Linked DNA regions of Homo sapiens: all the other regions are linked to region 3. Evidence: promoter capture Hi-C in 16 types of primary human blood cells and fetal thymus (Javierre and others, 2016). All regions are on one chromosome and are shown on one strand. Each heading gives the region's core, a stretch centred on a gene start or on the middle of the fragment in contact. The rest is flanking DNA. Distances are from core to core; before and after follow the strand shown. Region 1 overlaps SPATA31H1 (SPATA31 subfamily H member 1). Region 2 overlaps ZNF512 (zinc finger protein 512). Region 3 holds the start of ZNF513 (zinc finger protein 513).

Region 1 (2,700 bases), core at 4-2,503, 190 kb before region 3:
GTTCACATTTTACATCTTGTAAATGTTGCACAGAGTTGAACACAACAGATTTTATACCTTGAAGCTCTGGCCCTGGATGCAACTCAGAAAATTTCATAACTTGAAATTTTGTCCCTGATTCTACACCTTGCAAGTGTGGCGCAAGTTTGCACTCCATAGAATCTATACATTGCAATTTTAGCCCTGGATTCAACTCAGAAGAATTCACATACTGCACCTGTGGCCCAGGGTTGCATTCCATAGGTGCTGCACGTAGAAGCTTTGACCCTGGAGTCAATTCAGATTTTAAACCTTGCAAATGTGGTATAGGGTTGAACATCATAGGTGTCTCACTTTGAATTTCTGTCCCTGGGTTCAATTCAGAACACTTCATACCTTGAAGTTTTGAAACTGGAGTTAATTCAGGCGATTTCATACCTTGTAAATACGGCCCTGGGTTGCACCCAATAGAATTTACACAGTGAGCTTTTGGCTGTGGAATGAATGCAGAATTCACACCTTGCAAATGTGGCCCAGGGATGCACCCATTAGAACTTATACACTGAAGTTTAGGTGCTGGAATGGATGCAGAATTTACACCTTGCAAAGGTAGCCCACAGTTGCTCCCAGTAGAATTTACACACTGATGTGGTGGCTCTGGAATGGATACAGAAGAATTCACATCTTGCAAATGTGGTCCAAGGCAGAACACCTTAGATTTTATACCTTGAAGCTCAGGCCCAGGATTCAACTTGGCAGATTTTGTTCCTTGCAACTGTGGTCCAGGGTTGAAATCTAAAGATTGTATACCTTGAAGCCTTGTTCCTAGGCACAACTCAGAAGATTTCACACCTTGCAACTGTTGCTGAAGATTGAATTTCATAGATTTTACATCTTGAAGCTTTGTCCCTGTGCATAATTCTGAAGATTTTCTATGTTGCAGATGTGGCTCAGGATTGAACACCATAAATTTTACACTTTGAAGGTCTGGCCATGGATTCAATTTATGAGATTTCTCATCTTGCTGCTGCTTTTCAGCATTGAACTCAGAAGGTGCCACACTATGAATCTTTGATTCCAAGGCCAACTTAGAGAGTTTTGCAACCTGCAATTCTGGGTCATGGTTGCCTTCTGTAGAGTTCACCGTCTGAAGCTTTATCAACCCAGATTTCATATCTTCCAACTTTGCCCCAGGATTATATTCTACAGATTTCACACCCTGAAGGTGTATCCCTGGTGTCAACATAGATAATTTTCTATCTTGTAACTGTGAAGTTGAGCTTAACTCCAAAGATGTCCTATCCTGTACCTTTGTACCTACAGTCAATTCAGAAGATTTCACATCTTGCCGCATTGGCCTAGGCATGAGCACAGATTTCACTTTTTGAAGCTTTGTCGCTGGGATCACTTCAGAAGATTTCATACCTTGCAAGTGTGATCCAGAACTGAACTCCATAGATTTTACATCTTGAAGCTCTGTCCCCATTATTGAGTTAGAATATTTTGTATCTTGCCACTGTGGGCCCGAGTTGAACTCCACAGATTCCCCACCTTGAAGCTTTGTCTCTGGTGTTAACTCAGAAGATGTCACACCTTGTAACTTTAGACCATGGTGGAATTCTACAGATTTAACATCTTGATGGTTTGTTCCCTGAATCAACTCAGAAGATTTTTCGCTTTGTGTCTGTTGTCCAGAATTGAAATCCATTGATTTCATACTTTGAAGCCTTGTCCCTGAGGTTACCTCAGAAGATTTTATACCTTGAAAGTGTTGTCCAGAACTGAACTTCATAGATTTTACATCTTGAAGCTTTATACCCATGATCAGATCAGAAGATTTTATATCTTGTAACTGTGGGCCTGATTCCAGCTCTACAGATTTCACACCTGGAAACTTCCTCCCCAGGGTCAAATCAGATTTCTCACTTTGTAACTTTGGACTAGGTTTGAATTCTACCGATTTCACACCCTGAAGCTTTCCCCCTGGAATCACTTCAGAAGATTTCACAGTCTGTAAGTGTGGTCCAGAACTGAAATCCATAGATTTAATGTCTTGACACTTTATACCAATGATCAACCTAGAAGATTTCAAATCTTGCAACCGTGGGCCTGAGTTGCATTCCATTAATTTCACTTCTTGAAGCTTTGTCTTCGGTATCGACTCAGAAGATTTCACTCCTTGCAACTGTGGCCCAGGTTTGAAGTCTGTAGATTTGACACCTTGAATCTTGGTCCTTGTGGTCAAATCATAATATGGGATATCTTTCAATTGTGAACTGGGGTTTAACTCTCTAAACTTCATGTCTTGGGACTTTGTCTTAGGGTTCAACTTAGAAGATTTGACACATTGCCATTGTGGCCCAGAGTTGAACTCCTCAGATTTCATACCTGGAAGTTCTGTCTGATGAGCCAATTCAGATGATTTCTTGCTTTTCAAGTGTAGTAAGGAGTTCAGCGCTACAGTTTTATCACTTTGTAATGGTAGCTCTTGGCTTAATACTCCAGATTTCACCCCTGAAAACTGTGGCACTTGTGTAAACGCTGGAGACTTCACATCTTGCAGCTGTGTTCCTGGGCATGCCTCCAAGGGTTTCACTTTGTGCAGCTGTGGTCTTGGGGTCAACTCAGAAGATTTCACATCTTGCGAGTGAAGCCCAGGTTTGAATGCCATAGATTTTATATCACAGAGCTTTGATGTTGAAATTGGGCCACATGATTTCA
Region 2 (2,700 bases), core at 79-2,578, 220 kb before region 3:
GGGTTTCCTTTTCCCCTTGGCTGATACTCCACCTGACCCTGAAGTACCATACAAAAACAAAACAAAAACTCAGCACACTTTGTAAATGAACATCTAGGCCTGTCTTCAAAACATCATTCACAAGACCATCAAAAGGAAAGATCATCAGTGAACACAGGCCTCAGAGAAATGTCTGTGACATTTTTAGAGAAGTTGGTGTAACTTCTCATTAACTGACCCACTCTCCCTTTCTTTTTATATTGTTATCTATTCCAAATCATCCATTGTTCCTTATGAATAATAAGGGCATTCAAGCAATGTGTTTTGCTTAATCTTGACTTGAGGCTAACAAGAGGATAAGAATTGCTCAAGATAGAGGGCTAGCCACCAAGGACCCTTGAGATTGTGACGATCCAGAATATTCTCCCCTGAATAATCCTTACACCAGCCCCTAAATCATCAACAGAGGATCACACTAGAAGAAAAGGGGGGCCAGCCATGGTGACTCACATCTGTAATCCCAGCACTTTGAGATTACAGACTTTGGCCAAAGTGGGCGGATTACCTGAGGTCAGGAGTTCAAGACCAGCCTGACCAACATGGAGAAACCCCGTCTCTGCTAAAAATACAAAATTAGCCAGGTGTGGTGGCACATGCCTGTAATCCCAGCTACTCAGCTGGCATTACAAGCTGAGGCAGGAGAATCGCTTGAACCCAGGAGAAGGAGGGTGCGGTGAGCCTGAGCTCGAGTCATTGCACTCTAGTCTGGGCAAGAAGAGTGAAACTCCGTCTCAAAAAAAAAAGAAGAAGAAAAGGGGAATTCAAATACTACAAAGAGGAAAATCAAATGCTAAATATAATCTAGAGGAGTAAGATTAGCAGAATTTCACTCTATCACATAGCAGTTCATGAAGCTAATGGGACAGGATGCAATTGCCTAACACCTTAAATTTTTTTAAATCACTAATGAGAAACAAATATGTGGCATTTCATACTCTTTTTTTTTTTTTTTTGAGACGGAGTCTCGCTCTTTCGCCCAGGCTACAGTGCAATGGTGCGATCTCTGCTCAGTGCAACCTCTGCCTCCCAGGTTCATGCCATTCTCCTGCCTCAGCCTCCTGAGTAGCTGGGACTACAGGCGCCCACCACCAGGCCCCGCTAATTTTTTGTATTTTTAGTAGAGACGGGGTTTCACCATGTTAGCCAGGATGGTCTCGATCTCCTGACCTTGTGATCCGCCCGCCTCGACCTCCCAAAGTGCTGGGATTACAGGCGTGAGCCACCACGCTCAGCCGCCATTTAATACTTTTAAGAGGTATTTATAACAATCTCAAACTATAACTTTAGGAAGTGGCCCGTCTTCAGAATAAGACACTGATATTGATACCTTCGACATGAGAAGTAGCAGCTGGCTTGATTCTTCTCATCTTCATCCAGTAGGTAGATTTTCGGAAAGATGCTGGAAAATCACTCACTGGTTCACACGAAGATGCAGACGATGAACCACTTAAGGAGTCATCATGAGGGATAGTGTACTGGAAACTATTATCCTTTATGGAGCACTGGGTCCTGCTACTAATACAACATAAAAATATATACCACAAAGGAAGGTCTGGAGCAAAATTTCTATACATTCTTTTACATTATAACCAAGTTGGTTACCTCTGCAGAAAACTAAGAAGCCTGCTATAAAAACAGAATGTAAGTTGTAATCACCTAACAATAACAATAGTTGATCTAACACAACATGTACAATTATTATCACACTTCATTGTAATAAGAGTAAGCAGTACACATAAATGATCACTTTGCAGCCCAAGTAGACATTCCTTCCTAGATTCATCTAATAAAAGAAAGTAGGTGAAGCAATAAAGGTGTTCTATGACCCTTCAGAAGACTCCCTGGATTTGTAACCTGGTATGTCCCAGCCTCTCTCTTTCTCTGACAGAGGGATGGCAACTAAAGGGTATCTCTAAGGGAAAGGAATAGTCTGTGGGCCCTAATCTGACTCATCTTCCTTCTGCCTCAGCATTCTCCCTAAAACCTGATGCCCTATCTTATTTAGGCAACATGATACTTAGCTTCCACAGCTAAAGGATGGATGCTATCTTGCATGAATTAACCTGGCCAGAGATTTCTGGTATACAGCTGAATCCAGATTCCAAAATCTAAGACCAGTCAGTATGACAGCTAAAAAACATTACTCTGTAACTACAAAGCATCAGACATTCTTCTAGGTGGCTCAAGATGCAGCAGAGCAGCAGTTCTCCAAGAGTGGTCAATGGACTCCTAGAACCTCCCTTTTCCAGCTAAATACCTGTGAGGCCTACTTTAGATTTATGGTTCAGAAAGATCCTTCTGGCTGCTCTATGGAGACAGCCCATGGGAGAAAGAGTAAACAAAAGGAAAAAAGTTAACTTGAATTGGCAGATTCAAGGTAACACTTTAGATGTAGAGCTAATAAGAATTACACATAGAGAGGTTTGCTTATGACATCAGGGAGTTGGAAGTAACACAGTGACCATCCTTGCAAAATGTGATAGATGCCTACTATGGAATACTGTGCTGCTGTTAGAAGCAATAAACTAATTCTACACATAGAGACACGACCATAACTAAAAAGTATATTGTTGAATGAAAAAAGAAACAAAACAGTATCTCTAGCACAATGTCAGTTCAGCAAGCTAAAAACAAATCCACACATAAAGCAGCTTATTTTAA
Region 3 (2,700 bases), core at 198-2,697:
CAGCCAGCGTGATGAAAATGGGGAGCTTCGGTTATTGTCATCCATTGTGGAAGAGGTGAGTACCAGGGTGGAGAAGAGAGGGTGTCTGGTCTGCACAGCCAGGGTTCACTCTTTTAATCTGAGCTAAGTCGGCAATCTGGGAGCATTATCAGTAATTGCTGACAGACGCTAAACCCCGACTCCAAAGTTCCACCTTCTGTCATTTCCCTGACTTAGCCTTATGCCTTATGGACTAGCAGGTGGGCCGTTGTGTGATACCTCTTGCCCATTCCTCTCCTACCACCCTGACTCAGCAAGCCAGCCCTCTTGTGGGACTGTAGATTCCTGGCAAGGTGTTCAAACCCTGTGGCTGAGCTACCCCCATCCCTTTCTTAGCTGCTGGATCAGTGCCTGGCACCAGACACTTCTGGGGATGGTACAGGGTGTGACAACATGACCTGCATCATCATTTGCTTCAAGCCCCGAAACACAGCAGAGCTCCAGCCAGAGAGTGGCAAGCGAAAACTAGAGGAGGTGCTCTCTACTGAGGGGGCTGAAGAAAATGGCAACAGCGACAAGAAGAAGAAGGCCAAGCGAGACTAGCAGTCATCCAGACCCCTGCCCACCTAGACTGTTTTCTGAGCCCTCCGGACCTGAGACTGAGTTTTGTCTTTTTCCTTTAGCCTTAGCAGTGGGTATGAGGTGTGCAGGGGGAGCTGGGTGGCTTCACTCCGCCCATTCCAAAGAGGGCTCTCCCTCCACACTGCAGCCGGGAGCCTCTGCTGTCCTTCCCAGCCGCCTCTGCTCCTCGGGCTCATCACCGGTTCTGTGCCTGTGCTCTGTTGTGTTGGAGGGAAGGACTGGCGGTTCTGGTTTTTACTCTGTGAACTTTATTTAAGGACATTCTTTTTTATTGGCGGCTCCATGGCCCTCGGCCGCTTGCACCCGCTCTCTGTTGTACACTTTCAATCAACACTTTTTCAGACTAAAGGCCAAAACCTAATCGTACGCATCGTGTCCTTTTTTTTCTGCTGCCGTGGCCCCCGACTTGGTCCCATCTGTAGCATGTGGCGAGCCCCCATGTGAGTGTGTGCGTGTGCTCGTGTGTGTCCTGCGCGTGTATAGGAGAGCCCAGAGCGAGCTGCTGGTAGGCCGGCCTGGCGGGCGTCGCGGCTGCCCCTCGCCCCCTCCTGCAGCCAGAAATGATCTAGTTCCCCCAGGGACAGGTTGGGACCGGTCTGGCTGGCCTGAAGCCTGGAGTCGGGCAGGACGCCTCCTGCGCTGCTCCCTGGCCGGCTCCCCGCTGCCGCTGATTGGCTTGCTCCCCGCCTCGTCACAATCACTTCCCGGTCACGCCATTGAGGCTCCCGCCGCGGCCGCTTCCCACGGACTACGCGTCCCGTGCGTCTCTGCGGCGGCGGAAGCGGAAGCGAGTACGGAGGTACCAGCTGGTCTCCGTAGGGGGGTAGGGGGCTCCATGAATGGAAGCGGCGGCGGCGGCGGGAGCGGCCTGAGCTGGGCGCCGGGGCCAGGGCCGGGGGCTGCCCAGGGCCCGCGCCGCTGCATGGGGGCGGCCCGCGGGCCCTGAGAGGAAGGGCAGACAGGCGGGCCGAGATAGGAGGGGCGGGGTCGGGCGGCCGCAGGCCGGAGGCGCGTCGGGCTGGAGCCGGTCACGATGCCCCGAAGGAAGCAAAGCCACCCGCAGCCCGTGAAATGCGAGGGGGTCAAAGGTCAGGGGTCAGGGGCCTTGAGGGGAGAGGAGCGGGGGTGGGGTCAGTGGAGTGGGCTCAGGTCAGGGTGGAGGGGGACTCCTGAGGGATGAAGTGGGCGATCCAGACTCCTAGCTTCCCACCGAGGCACTAAGGGAATCAGAGTGGGTCAGCGAGTACGGGAAGTGTGGTCCACGAGGGCTGGTTCCTGAGGGAGAATCCACAAGCCCCCTCCCCTCTTCAGTGGATACTGAAGACTCCCTCGACGAAGGACCCGGGGCCCTGGTATTGGAGAGTGATTTGCTACTAGGCCAGGATCTGGAGTTTGAGGAGGAAGAGGAAGAGGAGGAAGGCGACGGCAACAGTGACCAGCTCATGGGCTTCGAGAGAGACTCGGAAGGTGGGTTTTCGGGTCTTGGTTAAGGATTAGCGGCCGCTGGAGACCCCAGCCCTTCAGGAGGCAGGTTAGGTGAACAGAACACCATTTCCTGCCACAACCGAGGGCTGGTTTAGTTTACATTTGAGCTAGATGACTTCATTTGTTTAATGGTCCAATCACTTCCATCACTTTGTTGAGGTGAAGTTCTGAGGCCTGGTCAAAGGTGATAGGAATAGGAGGGTGGGTGAATCACATGGAGCAACTGATTAAAAGTAAATGCCCTGTCTCTCTCCCTAGCCCATTCCTTATGTGTATTTACTTTTAAGAGAGGTTCAGGGAAGCAAACTCTCTGTAAATCATTCAACCCAGTATTTAGGTCTAATCTAACTCCCTTTCACCTGCAGCGTAAGCTCCTTTTGTATTGAGAGGTTTTAGTTTCTGTCTTTATCCTTCCATGTCCCTCTTCCCTGTGATCTTAGCATCACCCTACCCTAATTTGCTGCACTACCCATCCACTTATGCAAGATGTTTTTTGAAAGTCATTGAGGGGATCCATGTAAATATCTGTTCTTTAGGCAGGCAAGTGGTATTACATGCATTACTTTCATTGTCTCCACTTCCCTCCAAATTTTG

The links. Contacts are between HindIII fragments. The CHiCAGO score rates a contact against its expected background, and 5 or more counts as called.
Region 1: a fragment that was not itself captured here is called in contact with the fragment with the promoter of ZNF513 in region 3 in 1 of 17 cell types (naive B cells); the score reaches 5.5 in naive B cells.
Region 2: a contact is called between a fragment that was not itself captured here and the fragment with the promoter of ZNF513 in region 3, in 1 of 17 cell types (erythroblasts). The highest score is 5.6, in erythroblasts.

Annotation. Positions count from the first base shown.
Region 1 is chr2:27,573,586-27,576,285 of GRCh38, reverse strand. SPATA31H1 (SPATA31 subfamily H member 1) reads right to left here. Exons shown (of 5, transcript NM_032266.5): 5 at 1-2,700. Among named protein-coding and RNA genes, the nearest start is that of ZNF512, 8.1 kb to the left of the region's middle. The HindIII fragment of the contact is 237 bases long and covers 1,135-1,371 here.
Region 2 is chr2:27,596,921-27,599,620 of GRCh38, reverse strand. It overlaps ZNF512 (zinc finger protein 512), which reads right to left. Exons shown (of 14, transcript NM_032434.4): 3 at 1,367-1,554; 4 at 1-38. Among named protein-coding and RNA genes, the nearest start is that of ZNF512, 15 kb to the right of the region's middle. The HindIII fragment of the contact is 2,753 bases long and covers 1-2,700 here.
Region 3 is chr2:27,379,481-27,382,180 of GRCh38, reverse strand. ZNF513 (zinc finger protein 513) reads left to right here and starts at 1,447. Exons shown (of 4, transcript NM_144631.6): 1 at 1,447-1,709; 2 at 1,933-2,088. The coding sequence starts at 1,655. PPM1G (protein phosphatase, Mg2+/Mn2+ dependent 1G) reads left to right here. Exons shown (of 10, transcript NM_177983.3): 9 at 1-55; 10 at 376-982. The coding sequence ends at 582. RefSeq lists a silencer at 1,475-1,694. The HindIII fragment of the contact is 8,929 bases long and covers 1-2,700 here.